2 separate regions of the Homo sapiens genome follow, and region 2 is linked to region 1. The links are contacts of gene promoters, found by promoter capture Hi-C in human tissues and cell types (Jung and others, 2019). All regions are on one chromosome and are shown on one strand. Each heading gives the region's core, a stretch centred on a gene start or on the middle of the fragment in contact. The rest is flanking DNA. Distances are from core to core; before and after follow the strand shown. Region 1 holds the start of SCNN1G (sodium channel epithelial 1 subunit gamma). Region 2 overlaps SCNN1B (sodium channel epithelial 1 subunit beta).

Region 1 (7,964 bases), core at 2,489-4,988:
AAAGAAACTAGCTCATTGGCAGGCCAGTGGCCAATCAAATTTATCTTCAGGACTCATGAGACTAAGACAGGCTTTGAAAATTCAAGAAAGCCCACAAAATCCTCTGCCAGGCGCACTGACTTACACCTGTAATCCCAGCACTTTGAGAGGCCAATGCGGGTGGACTGCTTGAGCCCAGGAGTTCGAAACCAGCCTGGGCAATATAGAAAGACCTCCATCTCTACAAAACCCACAAAATGTATCTGGGTGTGGCAGTGCATGCCTATGTTCCCAGCTACTCTGGAGGCTGAGGGGGAAGTATCACTTGGGCCCAGGAGGTGGAGGTTGCAGTGAGCCGAGATCGCACCACTGCACTCCAGCCTGGGTGACAAAGCCAGACCCTGTCTCAAGTAAAAATAAAAATAAAAAAAGACCACAAAATCCTCCTCCTGAGAGATCCAGACCTTTCCTGGTTCCCATTCTCCTGAGACCCTCTGTGTTTCTTTGGATTCTGTAAAGGAGCCCTGCCTGCATCCATTTAATAATTTATTGATTCTGCTTGAGCTAATTTGAGTCTGTTTCTGTTGCCTGAAACCAAATGACTTTGCTAAGGCTAGGTTCGGTCATAGTCATATGCAAGGATGGCACGGAGGCCAGTGAAGGTGAAGCAGAATATGCGAGTGTGAGTAGGAAGAGACGAGGGCAGAGGGACAACAGGGTCAGATGATGGAGGGCCTTGCAGATGACCATAAGGATTTTGGCTTTCATTATAAATGAAGCAAGAAGCCACTGAATGGGTTTAAATAGAGAAATGGCATGATCTAACCTTAATTCAATAAGAATCTCTTTGACTGGCTTATTGACAAGAGGCTGTGGAGGGCAGAATTAGCAAGATTAGTGAGGAGCCTATGGCAATGATTCGGGTGAGAGACAATGATCAATTAGAGCATGGTGGTGGCCCCAGAGGTGGGGAGAAGTAGATTCTAGGTATATTTTATAAATCTGAACACTGATGCTTCAAGAAGGAGAGGACGTTGCCTATGGTCTTATGATGACAGGAGTGGTTTAGAGGCAATACCACTCTGTACTGAAGAATCAGATGGTGTTGGTCATAGGAGTGTACACATTTACCAAAACTCCTTGACTTGTACATTTTGGGCCAGGTGCAGTGGCTCATGCCTGCAATCATAACACTTTGAGAGGCCAAGGCAGGCAAATTTCTTGAGGCCAGGAGTTCAAGACCAGCCTGGGCAACATAGTGAAATTCCATCTCCACAAAAATAAAAAATTAGCCAGGCATGGTGGCACAGACCTCTAGTCCTAGCTACTATTTTGTAATCTGAGGCAGGAGGATTGCTTGAGCCCAGGAGTTGGAGGCTGCAGTGAGCTATGATCACACCACTGCATTCCACCCTGGGTGACAGAGCAAAACCTTGCCTCAAAAACAAACAAACAAAAAAATTGTGCGTTTCACTGTATATAAATTTTAACTTGAATCTAGCCTAATTCCATGCCTATAATGCCAGCACTTTGGGAGGCTGAGATGGGTAGATCCCTTGAACTCGGGAGTTCAAGACCAGCCTTGCAAACATGGTGAAACCCCTTCTCTACCAAAAAAAAAAAAAAAAAAAAATTAGTTGGGTATCGGTGGCATGCACCTGGGGTCCCAGCTACTTGGGAGGCTGAGGTGGGAGGATCCTTGGAGCCACAGGAAGTTGAGACTGCAGTAAGCCATGATCATGCCACTACATTCCAGCCTGGGTGACAGAGCAAGACCCTGTCTCAAAATAAATAAATAAATAAATAATTTAAAAGACAAAAAGAAGAAAAAGCTGGCTTTATTTTGCAGTGAGAATATAACTGTGTATTGTCATTCAAAACAAACATAGAATTTGAACAGTGTGTGTTTCAAAATCCCATTATATATGTATGTGTATATATATAAAACTAATATGTGTGTGTGGACACACACACATACACACACACCAAATAATAACCAAACTGTTAGCCATGCTTATTTGGGGAGGGGGGGGCACAGTTTATTGTTTTAATTCTTTGCAATGAGCATATATTGTTAGAAGAAGCAGCTGAGATTTTTTAGAGGATTTTCTTTAAATTTCTCTCCAATAATGCTGGACCTGTTTCCATCCACCTGGGCAAACCGCCCTTGGACCAGCAACCAAGGCATCTCCTAGGAATTTGGAAATTCGGACTCTTAAGACCCACTCCACCCCTATCGAGTCAGAATCTGCATTTTAACAACATCCATAGGTGATTGTAACCACATTCAAATCTGAGAAGCTCTAGGTAAGAACAGATCCTTTCCTCTCTCTGGGCTTCAGTTTCTCCCCGGCACAAAGGGGCTGTGTCTCTATGGTCCCTCCCAATTGCAGTTTTCTAATCTCGTTTCTTGTAGTTATCTGAGTCCCTATAAAAAGGCAGCTGAAGCTAGGAAAGGTGGCTTACCTCTGTAATTCCAGCTATTTGAGACGCTGAAGTGGGAGGCTCGCTTGAGCCCAGTAGTTGGCAGCTACAGTGAGCTATGATTGCAGCACTGCACTCCAGCCAAGGTGACAGAGGCAGACCCTGTTAAAAAAAGAAAGAGAGAAATAGAGGAAAGAAAGAAAGAAAAAGAAAGAAAGAAAGAAAGAAAGGAAGAAAGAAAAAGGAGGGAGGGAGGGAGGAAGGAAGGAAGGGAGAGAGAGAAAGAAGAAAGAGGGAGGAAGGAAGGAAGGAAGGCAAGCAAGCAAGAAAGAGAAAGGAAGGAAGGAAGGAAGGAAGGAAGGAAGGAAGGAAGGAAGGAAGGAAGGAAGGTGGGCGGGCGGGAAGGCAGGCAGGCAGGCAAGGAAGGAAGGAGGAAAGAAAGGAAAGAAAGAGAGAAAGAGAAAGAAGGACAGGCCAGGCGCGGTGGCTCACACCTGTAATCCCAGCACTTTGGGAGGCCAAGACGCGTGGATCACCTGAGGTCAGTAGTTTGAGACCAGCCTGGCCAACATGGTGAAACCGCGTCTCTACTAAAAACACAAAAATTAATCCGGGCATGGTGGCGCGCGCCTGTAACCCCAGCTACTTGGGAGGCTGAGGCAGGAGAATTGCTTGAACCCGGGAGGCGGAGGTTGTAGTGAGCTGAGATAGCGTCATTGCACTCCAGACTGGGCGACAGAGCGAGACTCCGTCAAAAAAAAAAAAAAAGAAGGAAAGAGGAAAAGAAAGAAGAAGGAAGGAGGAAATAACGAAAGAAAGAGAAAGAAGCAGCTGAAAAGGTCAAAGGATGAGTGGCCTGGCTGAACAGCCCCTGCTGCCTACAGCCGGACGCTGGTGGGCACTGAAGCTGCAGGTCTGGAGGGAGTCCGAGGAGCGAGGCTGCGTGGGATTACTGCTGGTGCTAGGGCAGGCACCTGCCATCTGGACGGGAGTGGAAGGAAGTCGCGGGGCAGTAATAGGGGGCAGCAGGCGCTTTGAGGCGCCTTGGGGTAAGTGCCGCAGAGACCCAGCGGGAATGCAGGATGGCAGGGCGGCCTCGGGGCGGCAGCAGGCACTGCGCGGTGGCCCAGGAAGACGCAGCGCGGCCGGGCTGGGGCGCAGGGCGGCTTCGGGGCGCCAGGGGGCGTTGTGAAGTCGTGGCCCGCTCCGGGCGGTCTCAGGTGCCTGGCGGCCTGGGGAAAGCACCTGGGCAGGTGGGGGCGGGGCCTGGGGAGGCGGGTCCCTAGGGGGCGGGGCCTGGCCGGCCCACAAGAGCCCGCGGTGGCGCTGCCAGGGGATGCTAGCCCGAGAGCGAGCAGAGGAGCAGCGCACCCGCACGAGCCTTGGACCCTTTGGAACCGAAAGGTGAGTTCAGCCGGGTTGGGTCGGACCAGCTCGGGGGTTCTGGGCACTGGAGCGGATGCCGGGCGCCAGGGCGTCGGACGCCGTCAGCGCGGTGGGTGGCCGAGCCAGCATCAGCCGGTGGCGGCTTCCCGGTGCCCGGGATGCTGGGACACCTTGCCCGGGCGGTAGCGGCCAGCTCTCCCGGGTCTACCCACGCCGTGGCCCGGAGCACGAAGCCAGTCGAGAGCCACTCAGAGTCCGGGGGTCTGGGGGTCCCGGGCCACACCTGGCCTCTTTTCTCCGCCCAGCGCCTGTTCAGCCCCCTTCCCTGCCGGGGTGAGTCGCGTGGACCTGTCCGCTACTGTTCCTTCTACCCTCTGGAATGCTTTCTCCGGGGTGACTTGGTGCAGAAAGAAGCAAACACTTGAAGTGGGCTGGTTGGATTCGCTCCAGCGCCTTCAGCCGGCGCTCCCCCGGGGCAGACGTGGCTTCCGCCACAGGACAGCGCCCGCTCGCTCCGCGCAGGGAGGGCAGGGCTGCGGGGTCGCTCGGCAGGAGCTCGGGTCAGGGCCCTGAGGTTGAGTTCAAGTGATTTCTGCACAGGACTCGCCCTTCGGGACGGGCACTGATCGGGAACTCTCCGGTCCAGCGAACCCAACGCTAGACTTGGGGCAAATCTCTCATCCCTCTCCAAGCTTTGGGGTCCTGCACTGTGGGATGGGGGACAGGCAAAGTCGGTGGTAGGTGAGGAGGGGGTGCACGGAGCCGCTGCGATGAGCCAGGGCCCTGGAATTCTAAAGAATCCTTCAAATCCTTTCTACCTGTGTGGTCTTGGGCAAATTACCTAACCTCTGTGCCTCAGTTTCCTTCTCTGTGAAATGGGCCAAGTAATAGCACCTCATATAACTGTAGTGAGGATTAAATCAGGTAGTGTGTGAAAAGGACTGAGTGGGATGCCTGGGAGTACAGAAAGGGATCAATAAGTGATAGCTGCCATTATTGCTGCTTTCCCTGCTGCTGTTATTATTATTAATGATTGAAGAGCAGCCTAGTTAGTCGTTAAAGGGACTCCTAGGTGCAAATCCCAGCTCAGCCACTTTCTAGTGTGACCTTGGGCAAGCTACTTAACCTGTCAGCGTCTGTTTCATTTGTACAATGGAGGTGGTTGTGATACCTACCTCAGACGATTATCGTGAAAATTAAATGAGGTGACAGCTGCAAAGTACTTAGAAGAGTAAGTGCTGGGTATCAGCTAGTAATTCTTCCACCAAGGGTATCACATTGGCTCAGGCTGCATAATCTAATGGTAGCTACAGTCTTGTTTTGCTTTGAAGTTGAAATATTATTTATATGAATATTTTATCTGTTTTGCAAAGAGCAAGATCAGTTCCCTTCCTTCACTTGGGGGCTCCTCTGACATTGTCGACTGATCCATTGGGGTCAAGGTCGGTTCTGGGGAAGGGGCTGATGGGGCAGAGGTACCCCTGAGAGCTGGGGATAGGAGCTTCCAGAATCACAGCTTCTGTTGAACATTCACAGAGGAGGGCTGCAGTTTTATTTGACAAGCAATTGAACCTGGACCTAGATTTTAAAAACAAACTCTCGCTAATTTTTTTCTTTCTTTCCTTCTTCTTTATTTCATTTTTTATTTTTTTGGATTGTAGTGAGGGAGGAGGTAAGGATAGGCAATATTTTAAGTGATAAAAAAATAAATTATATTCCTCTTGCCCAGAGGCTACTAGCATCATTTTGATGGTGTTCTTCATCCCAGCAAAATCATATCAATCTATGGAGGGTTTAGAGCAGTTTGTCTGCTCTGGACATCTCACCTCCATGCCCAGCACTCCATTTCCTTTCCATCTGAGGCCTTAAACCCACTAGCATCATAAGCTTGGAAGCCTCCTAGCTTTGCCCCAGCTTCCAATTTTAGCCCATATTTCATGGGTTCAGGGTGGGAAAAAAAGACATAACTCTGCAGGTTCCGAATACTGCCTAAAAATCTTGATGGGGCACATCGAAGTCACAGACATGGGTCCTCTCTGGTCCTGGGGACCACCCTGTATGCCCTAGGATATGTCCTAATTTGCCTTTGTCACTGTAGAAGGCATAGGACGACACAGTTTTCATATATCCCCCACCCCCAATACTAGTGCTCACAAGTCTTGGGAAGTGGTCATGTGCACTGTTCAGAGTTTGGAAATTAAATAGCTGTGTTCCTTCTCTTTCCTCCTACCTTTAGTTCTTGGTATTGTTAATTAACTCCCTGCACCCAGCGTACTACCAGGCCCCTCAAAGGCGTATGCCATAGCGGTGAAGGCTGCAGGGTTCCATCCAGCTCCTCCACTAACCAGCTGCATCATCTTACACAAGATATTCAACCTCTCTGAGCCCATTTTTCTCCTCTGTAACATGGATATAATAATAGCATGCCTACTTCATGGAATTATTGAAACACAAAAGGAAATATATGTAGGCTATGTGTATATTTATAGAGAGAGACAAATTTACTTATGAGACTAATGAGACTATATATTATAAACATGAAATGAGTTTTTATGTAGTATATTAGTTCATTTCTAAAATTATTTCTCATTGTAAAGTTTGTATAGTTGAGATGCATCGTGCACATTGATGAATGTGATAATTTGCCTTCCAATACTGGTACTCTCCCCCAAAGCTGTTATTAAATCAAGGGCATTCTCTAAATTAATGGTATCTTAGAATCAAGGAAATATGGCACAATGCCTGGCAAACACTAAGTGGCCAATAGTTGCAGGTTATTGTTACATCAGGTGATCTAGAAACATTAAGAGCTTGACTGTAAAGAGAAGAAACAAAAGAGAAATCGTTTCACTTATAATAAAGCCTCAGAGAAAAGGCTGGGGAAAATGCAGCCAGGAACATGATCTAAGGTGGCTGCCGGGAAATTTTCTTGGCAGATTTCATCTGTCAGTTACAATCTGCCGAGCACTGCTCTGTGCCAGACACTGTGCTAGGAACCAGGGGGCATAATGAGATAGGAATGCTGCCCTTGAGGAAGGCGGGCTACTGGAGGTGATAAGGCACGGGTACCCCTGCCTGATAAGAGAGCTGATGGGGCTGCTTCCAGAGTTCCTGCCCAGGAACCCGGGGAAAGGTCCTGCAGCCTGTCCAGCCAGCGCTTCGCAGGTTGCACCTCACCCAGCCCCCGCACGGCTAGGCCTGGGGGCCGTAAGAGAAGTAGGCAGCTTCTCTGGCAGCTGTGGTGGCCAAAAACAAACGTCCCGTGGAAAAGGGGCCAAGGATTCAGAATGCAAAGTGCCTAAGCCACAGAGGAACAGAGGAAGGAGGTCTCTAAGGGCGCATGGACTGGTGTTTCCCAGACTGTGGTCTCCAGGGACACACTAGCCGGCTAGTGCCTGCCAGCTCACCTGCTTCTCTTCTTTGCCCCTCCAGCACGCCCGTCCTCAGAGTCCCGTCCTCAAAGTCCCATCCTCGCCATGGCACCCGGAGAGAAGATCAAAGCCAAAATCAAGAAGAATCTGCCCGTGACGGGCCCTCAGGCGCCGACCATTAAAGAGCTGATGCGGTGGTACTGCCTCAACACCAACACCCATGGCTGTCGCCGCATCGTGGTGTCCCGCGGCCGTCTGCGCCGCCTCCTCTGGATCGGGTTCACACTGACTGCCGTGGCCCTCATCCTCTGGCAGTGCGCCCTCCTCGTCTTCTCCTTCTATACTGTCTCAGTTTCCATCAAAGTCCACTTCCGGAAGCTGGATTTTCCTGCAGTCACCATCTGCAACATCAACCCCTACAAGTAAGAGGCATGAGCAGGGAAACGCGAGTAGGGAGCCAGGCCCCCCACAGAGGCCAAAGCCCCTCCCGAAAGTGACACACTGGCAGCCTGGAGGTCGATTCCAGCCTACAAATGTGCTTTCTAGAAATTTGAATTTGTTGCTAACGCTGGTAAACAGCCCCCTCCCCAGTTCTAAATCTGTATGTACCAAGTTTTCAGACCATCAGTGACTTGTTTTTTTTCTTTTCTTTTTCCTTTTTTGAGATGGAGTTTCGCTCTTGTTGCCCAGGCTGGGATGCAGTGGTGCGATCTCGGCTCACTGCAACCTCCACCTCCCAGGTTCTAACAATCCTCCCGAGTAGCTGGGACTACAGGGGTGTACCACAGCGCCAGGCTAATTTTT
Region 2 (7,964 bases), core at 2,344-4,843, 160 kb after region 1:
TATAAAATGGACTAACACTAACAATAGCTGATGAGCTAAGAAAAAAAAAAATCTCCTAGTGTTTTAAGAAAGTTTATGAATTTGTGTTGGGCCACATTCAAAGCCATCCTGGGCTGCCTGTGGCCTGCAGGCCGCAGGATGGAAAAGCTTGATTTATATGAAACATCCAAAACAGGCAAATCTAGAGAGACAGAGAATAGATAAGTGGTTTCTGATGGGGAGGAGGAGGGTGGAGAGAGGAATGAGAAATAACTTCTAATGGGCATGGAGTTTTCTTTAGGGGAAATAAAGATGTTTTAAAATTGATTGTGATGATAGTTGAACAATGTGAATATACTGAAATCCAGTGAATTCTACACTTTAAATGGAACACACAACAAAAAATGCTAAAACAAATAGTTGTCCATATTTTTTAAAGGGAATCTTAGCTCCTACCCCACACTATATGCAAAAACTAACTTCAAATGGTTCATAGACCTAATAAAACTATAAAACACTCAGAAGAAAGCATAGAAGAAAACCTGTCTCGTAAGAGAACTGAAACAGGGCTGGGCATGGTGGCTCATGCCTGTAATCCCAGCGCTTTGGGAGGCCAAGGAGGGCAGATCACCAGGTCAGGAGATCGAGACCAGCCTGACCAACATGGATAAACCCCGTCACTATTAATAATACAAAATTAGCCGGGCGTGGTGGTGCATGCCTGTAATCCTAGCTACTCTGGAGGCTGAGGCAAGAGAATTGCTTGAACCTGGGAGGTGGAGGTTGCAGTGAGCTGAGGTCACGCGATCGCACTCCAGCCTGGGCAACAAGAGCAAAAGTTTGCCAAAAATAAAAAAAGGAAAAGAAAGAAAGGAAGGAAGGAAGGAAGGAAGGAAGGAAGGAAAAGGAAGGAAGGAAGGAAGAAAGAGGGAGGGAGGGAGGGAAGGAAGGAAGGAAAAAAGAAAGAAAGAAAAAGAGAAAGAAAGAAAGAAAGAAAGAAAGAAAGAAAGAAAGAAAGAAAGAAAGAAAGAAAGAAAGAAAGAAAAAAAGAAAGGAAGGAAGGAAGAAAAAAAAAAGCCGAAACACTTTTCCACATTTATTGTTTTTGCATTTGCTAACAGGAACATTTACCATGAGTTCAGGGCCAATGTATAGTCAGCAATCTGTGACTCTGAAGCATGACAATTGGTGTCTCTTTCTGTGTGCACACATGGACTTAGTCTCTACTTTACTTGTTTGGATTGGGTTAAGCTGTACACTGATTCAATCCCTTCTCCATAAACTGTGTATACATTCCAAACACAGACCATCTATCACCGTGGGGGTGAAATCTGACCAGAACATCATAAAGTTGTTTGCAGCACTTACTGAGTTTGATCTGGCTAATGACCCAAGGGGCCAGACTAGTTAGATGCTCAGCCAATACTCAACACACTTCTGTTATTTGCCTACCATTGTAACAACTTTTGCTACCTGTAGTACTGTTGTTTACTTAAACATTTTTCTTTAAATCAATTCCCCTTTTTTTACTTAAGCACGTTTATGAACATAAAGCAAAAGTCAGTATCTCTTGCCATAAGTAGAAGGTGGCTCTTAAAAGTAAGCCCAGTGAAAACAGAATGTTACCCATTCTAACTAGATACTGTTGCCTGAGCCTGAGGCCTCATTGTTAAACCCGGAGATTAGAAGGGTTGGAGAGGTGTTAAGGAGCTGTTGGTACCAAGCTGAGACTTTCTCCTTGACTAAATCAGAATAATTACATGAGAATAGAAAAGGGTAGACATTCTAGAGGCCCTTTATATCTTCTACAACTACCTATTGGAACCTAATGTGATGTTCACCTATGTGGCTTTGGGGTGCTAGACTATATAAGGCAGACGAAGCCTTGGTTCTTCCCATATGCTTGAGTCATGGCAAACATTTAATACTTTGATGTTGCTCTTGTAGTTGCTATTATAATAACTGTTATTACTTTATTATTTCAGAGCAGGGAATAGACCTTCTGGGGAAAGTTGGGAGTGGGGTTACTCTATGAACATCCTCTTACAGCCATGATGGCTTGGGCAGGCACATAGAGTTTAATTCCTATCAGAGAATGGAGTTGGAGGTGGGGTGCAGTGGCTCACACCTGTAGTCCAAGCACTTTGGGAAGCCAATGCGGGTGGATCGCTTGATCCCAGGAGTTCGAGACAAGCCTGGGCAACATGGCAAAACCTTATCTCTACTGAAAATACAAAAATTAGCTGGGCATGGTGGCATGCGCCTGTAGTCCCAGCTACTCAAGTGGCTAAGGTGGGAGGATCACCTGAGCCCGGGAGGTGGAGGTTGCAGTGAGTCAAGATCGTGCCACTGCACCCCAGCCTGGGCAACAGAGCGAGAGCCTGTCGAGAGAGAGGAGAGAGAAAGAGAGAGAGAGAGAGAGAGAGAACAGAGTTGGAGAAGAAAGCACTTCATGCTTTGGCCAAGACTCCTTCTGGGGAAGGAAGGTGAGAAATGTTACTGTGTCAGATAATTGGATCAGGAGTGAATATGCTTGGGCAGGTTTAACATCTCTGTTTAGACGTGAAGGTCTGACCTTATACATCTGGATATTCTGTGGGGTGTCAGGCACTGTGCTGGGCTTTGTCAGGGATACAGAGCTGCTGCCCTCAAGGGGCTTGCGATCTCCCGGGAGAAGCCACAGGCACAAGAAACTAGAACACAGGATAAAACAAGGGTCAATTTATTTTACTATTAAGCTTCTTATGGGTGCAAATGGCAGGCATCCAATTTGGATATGCATAAATAAGAAAGAAAATGTATTGTTTCCATATCTGATGAGGCCAGGAATGAATGGCTTCAGGCATGGCTGGATCCAGGTGTTCAAATGGCAAAGTCAGAAATTTCTCTCCATCTCGTGCCTCTTCTTTCCTCTGTATTGGCTTTATTCTCAGGAAGACTTCCCGTTTGGGCTGCCAAATACCACCAGCTTAGTAGGCTTAGTTAAAAGTGAGGTCTCTCCTTCAGTTATTCCAATATAAACGAATAGAATTGAGTCCTAATGTTCCACTTTGAGTCACATGCACATCTCCCAGAGCTAAGAGGAGAGATCAGCCTGGCAACTCACACCAACTGAGATGAAAGGGACAGCGGGATATCTTCACCTGAAACCTCAGTGCAAGGGGGAGAGTATGCTGGGCACAGAGGAACCACACTGCCCAGCATGGTGCCCCCAGAAGGGAAAGGCTCTCAGAGGGGGTGAGGGTCCAGCCTGAAGTCAGGAGAGCTTCATGGAGGAAGTGGCCTTTGGTCTGGACCTTAAAGATCAAATACAACTGGAGCTCCAGGAATAGAGCTGGGATGCTCCTGCCGCAGGTTCCTGCTCTGTGTCCAGAGAGAAGGGAGGGGGAAGCAGGAATGTCCTTAGAAACCCTCATGTGCCATAACAAGTACCTGGTGGTCTTCACAAGAACCTGCCCTCTCATGCATATGGGAAACAGAGTCTCAGAAAACTCTGGCATTCCTCATCCATGACCCATACTCTCCAACCTCATGCTCCGGACACAACCTCACCCCATTCTAATTTGTATCCATGGAACACCCTTTTTTCCTTTTCTTTTTTTTTTTTTTTTTTTTTTTTTTTTTGAGACGGAGTCTCACTCTGTCGTCCAGGCTGGAGTGCAGTGGGGCGATCTCAGCTCAGTGCAATCTCGGCTCACTGCAACCTCCACCTCCCAGGCTAAAGCAGTTCTCCTGCCTCAGCCTCCCAGGTAGCTGGGATTACAAGGGCCCGCCACCAGCTAATTTTTGTATTTTTAGTAGAGACAGGGTTTCACTATGTTGGCCAGGCTAGTCTCAAACTCCTGACCTCAGGTGATCCTCCTGCCTCAGCCTCCCAAAGTGCTGGGATTACAGGCATGAGCCACCGCACCTGGCTGGAATGCCCTTTTCAAATCCCAGCTTTGATGGCATCACACCCTCATGCCTCCAAAGGTTCCAGTTCTCTTGGGATTGAAACCCTAATCTTTAACACAGTCCACAAGCCCTTGCGTGGCCTGGCCCTGCTCACCCTTGCAGGCTCCCTCCCCACCCCTGCAGGCTCCCTCCCCACCCCTGCAGGCTCCCTCCCCACTTCAGCCTTCCCCCTTCCCCTCCCCTCTCCTATCCTTTAACCTCAGCTCCTCCATCACTTCTCCAAGGACTCTCAGACCTGGCCAGGCCTCCGTTTTCTAATAAAAATCGCTGACACTTAGGTGCCAGGCATGAATCTACCCTCTCCATATTTTCATGCAGCCAGCCTCCACGACAGCTTTATCAGGTGGAAGCTGTAATTATCCCCATTTTATGGATGAGGAAACTGAAGGACTGAGAAGGAGATTTGCTCAAAGTCACAAGCTAGGAAGCAGCAGGGCTGAGAGTCAAAGCCAGAAATTTCCCAGGAGTTCGAGGCTGCAGTGAGCCATGATCATGCCACTGCACTCCAGCCTGGGTGATAGAGTGAGACCCTGTCTCAAACAAACAAACAAAAAGCCAGAAAATTTGGTTACAGAATCCTTATTCTAAACCACCAGCCTTTAATGCCTCTAGCATCTCAGGGCATGGGGTCCCAATCTTTCCTGTCATGTTTCATAGCTCTGCTTTTTTGATGGATTCTTCGCTTAACATCTGTCTTACCCACCGACAGCTAGTGACAATGGAAACTGGCATACTGAGGACCTGGCCTGTGCTAGGCTCAGTCCATAGCACTTTTTGTGCATCGCCGAATTTCCTCCTCTCAGCAATCCTGTAAGTTAGATGTAATTGTTACAGTAAGTCTTCACTTAACATTGTTGATATGTTCTTGGAAACTGCAACTCTAGGCTAAACGATGTCTAATGAAATCAATTTCACCATAGGCTAATTGATATCAACAAGAGTTAAGCTCCTATGGCCTATTTCTGGTCACAAAAAAAGTCACCAAATTTCTAAGTAAAGACCAAAATGCTTCTAATATTAAACATTGAAATAAATATGAGCTATACATACATTTAAGAAAGATTAAGACCAGGTGCGGTGGTTCATGCCTGTAATGCCAGCACTTTGGGATGCTGAGGTGGGTGGATCACTTGAGCTCAGGAGTTTGAGACCAGCCTGGGCAACACGGTGAAACCCCGTCTCCACTAAAAATACAAAAATTCACTGATATGGTGGTGTGCATGCCTATAATCCCAGCTACTTAGGAGGCTGAGGTGGGAGGATCTCTTGAGCCTGGGAGGTAGAGATTGCAGTGAGCCATGACTGCGCCACTGCGCTCTAGGCTGGGTAAGAGAGTGAGACCCTATCTGAAAAAAGAAAAAGAAAAAGAAAGATTAATAAAAACAAGTAAGATCATTATTTACCCACTTATTCAGTTCAAGGTCACAGTGGCCAGAGCCTATCTCTGCAGCTGAGGCCACAGGCGGGAACCCACCCTACACAGGACACATTCCATTGCAGAGCACTCACACACAGTCACACTCACTCACCTGGGACCATGCAGACACATCATGGGGAGGACATGTAAACTCCATATAGACAGTGGCCCTGGCTGGGAATCTACTTTCTTTTCTCATCAATGTTACAATGAAACATTGAACAAAACGACGTCGTTTGAGGACTTGCTATACCACATTTTATGCACAGAGAACCTGAGTTGAGAGTTTAAGTCACTTGTTCACTAGGTTATGAATTCCCAAAGGGCAAAAAACCTTGTCCATTTTGCTCATTGAGTCCAGAAGGACCATTTGAGTGCCTGGCATATAGTAGGCATTCAATAAATGCATTTTGGTTGATTAGATGGATGGATGGATTGATGACAGATAGCCAAAGGAAGGAAGAAAAGAAGGAAAAAAGGGAGGGAGGGAGGGGGGAGGGTAAAGAGGGAGGAAGAACGGGGACGTACCGCCGCCCAGTTCCTGGACGTGACTGGGACATCCTCGCAGGCAAGGCTGGTGTCCCAGCTGATGTGCGTCCCCATGCCTCTCTGCAGGTGCCACTATGCACGTGAAGAAGTACCTGCTGAAGGGCCTGCATCGGCTGCAGAAGGGCCCCGGCTACACGTACAAGGAGCTGCTGGTGTGGTACTGCGACAACACCAACACCCACGGCCCCAAGCGCATCATCTGTGAGGGGCCCAAGAAGAAAGCCATGTGGTTCCTGCTCACCCTGCTCTTCGCCGCCCTCGTCTGCTGGCAGTGGGGCATCTTCATCAGGACCTACTTGAGCTGGGAGGTCAGCGTCTCCCTCTCCGTAGGCTTCAAGACCATGGACTTCCCTGCCGTCACCATCTGCAATGCTAGCCCCTTCAAGTAGGTGGCCCCGGAGTGCACAGCTGGCCTCAGCAGACAGGCGGTTCTCTTTCTCTCTTTTCTTCCCTTCTACCTTTCCTTTCCTTCCTTTCCTTCCTTCTCCTTTCTCTCCTTCTCTTTATTTCTCCCCTTTCTTCCTTCCTTTCTCCCTTTATTACTTTTCCTTCCTTCTTCTTCCCTTTCTTTTTTCTTTTCTTTCTTTCCTTCCTTCTTTCTCTTTCTCCTCCTCTCTGTCTTTCCATTTGCCTTCATCCTTTTGCAGCAACTAAGATTCAAACTTCATAAACTTTTGGCCAGGTGCAGTGGCCTGTAATAACAGCACTTTGAGAGGCAAAGACAGAAGGATCCCTTGAGGCCAGGAGTTGGAGAACAGCCTGGGCAACATAGCAAGATCCCACTTCTAAAAAAAGTAAATAATTTTTTTTAATTAGCCAGACGTGGTGGCACATGTCTGTGGTCTGAGCTGCATAGGAAGCAGAGGTGGGAGAACTGCTTGAGCCCAGGAGCTCGAGGCTGCAGTGGGCTGAGATGGCGCCACTTGAGTTTCAAGTCAAGGCTAAGAAAAAATAATTAATTAAAAATAAAAACAAGAAGATGCCACTGCATTCCAGCCTGGGTAACAGATGCTATCTCTTAAAAATAAAAAAATCATAAGTTTCCTAGGCTTAGAGAGAACCTTGGGCACCCTCTGTCTTCAGGCAGGCCAGTGCCTATTTATCGATTCCACGCGTGTTTACGGAGCACCTACTATGTGCCAGGCACTGTCCTAGGCAACACAAATACAACAGTTAACAAAACAGAGTCCCTGTCCTCTTCACAGCCTGCCAGAGCAAACATGCCCCACAAAGTTGTCCCCACAAATATCGAATTCATCATCATTATGATGATAAAAAATAAAACAACTCAGCCGGGCACCATGGCTCATACCTGTAATCCCAGCATTTTGAGAGGCTGAGGTGGGCAGATTACTCGAGGTCAGGAGTTTGAGACCAGTCTGGCCAACATGGTGAAACCTCAACTCTACTAAAAATACAGGCAATGCCTGTAATCTCAGCTACTTAGGAGGCTGAGGCACGAGAATTGCTTGACCCCGAGAGGCAGAGGTTATAGTGAGCTGAGATTGCATCACTGCACTCCAGCCTGGGCAACAGAACAAGATCCTGTCTCAAAAATTAAAAAATAAATAAATAAAACCACTCTTCAACAAATGCTTATGATATGCTAGGCACTGTGTTCAGTGTTCTTTGGATAATTGGTGTCATTCTAATCCACACAACCACCCTAGGATTGGGAACTCCTGTCGCAGCCCCAGTTTACAGGTGAGGAGATGGAGGTTCAGAGAAGTAAGTGAGCTTGCCTGGAGATGCACAGTGGAAGACTGTGGGATTTGAATCTAGGCCTGATGTGATCCCAGAACTGCTACTTTTTAACCATTCTTCCGGATTGCCCGTTCTCCATTCTCCGCTTGATAGCAAGACCTGTGAAGGGGACACAAGAGGAGACCCAACCTAGTCAGGGTTATGGAGAGACAGGGAGTCAGTCCAAAAACAAAAAATAAAAAAAAGTGCCCTAAGGAATGAGTAGAAGTTGGCCAGATATGGTGAAGAGAGTGCCCCCAGTCTTGGATACAGCAGGTGCAGCTGGTGAGATGCTTGGTGCATTCAAGGAACTGAAAGAAGG

What was found. Contacts are between HindIII fragments. The study calls those that stand out against the background at their distance.
Region 2: a fragment that was not itself captured here is called in contact with the fragment with the promoter of SCNN1G in region 1 in 1 of the 25 tissues and cell types used here (pancreas).

What each region holds. Positions count from the first base shown.
Region 1 is chr16:23,179,007-23,186,970 of GRCh38, forward strand. SCNN1G (sodium channel epithelial 1 subunit gamma) reads left to right here and starts at 3,739. Exons shown (of 13, transcript NM_001039.4): 1 at 3,739-3,807; 2 at 7,222-7,582. The coding sequence starts at 7,266. RefSeq lists a silencer at 3,461-3,710 and enhancers at 6,746-7,247, 7,248-7,747. The HindIII fragment of the contact is 8,387 bases long and covers 1-5,078 here.
Region 2 is chr16:23,342,627-23,350,590 of GRCh38, forward strand. It overlaps SCNN1B (sodium channel epithelial 1 subunit beta), which reads left to right. Exons shown (of 13, transcript NM_000336.3): 2 at 5,966-6,284. The coding sequence starts at 5,974. Among named protein-coding and RNA genes, the nearest start is that of SCNN1B, 44 kb to the left of the region's middle. RefSeq lists an enhancer at 5,594-6,095. The HindIII fragment of the contact is 4,323 bases long and covers 1,433-5,755 here.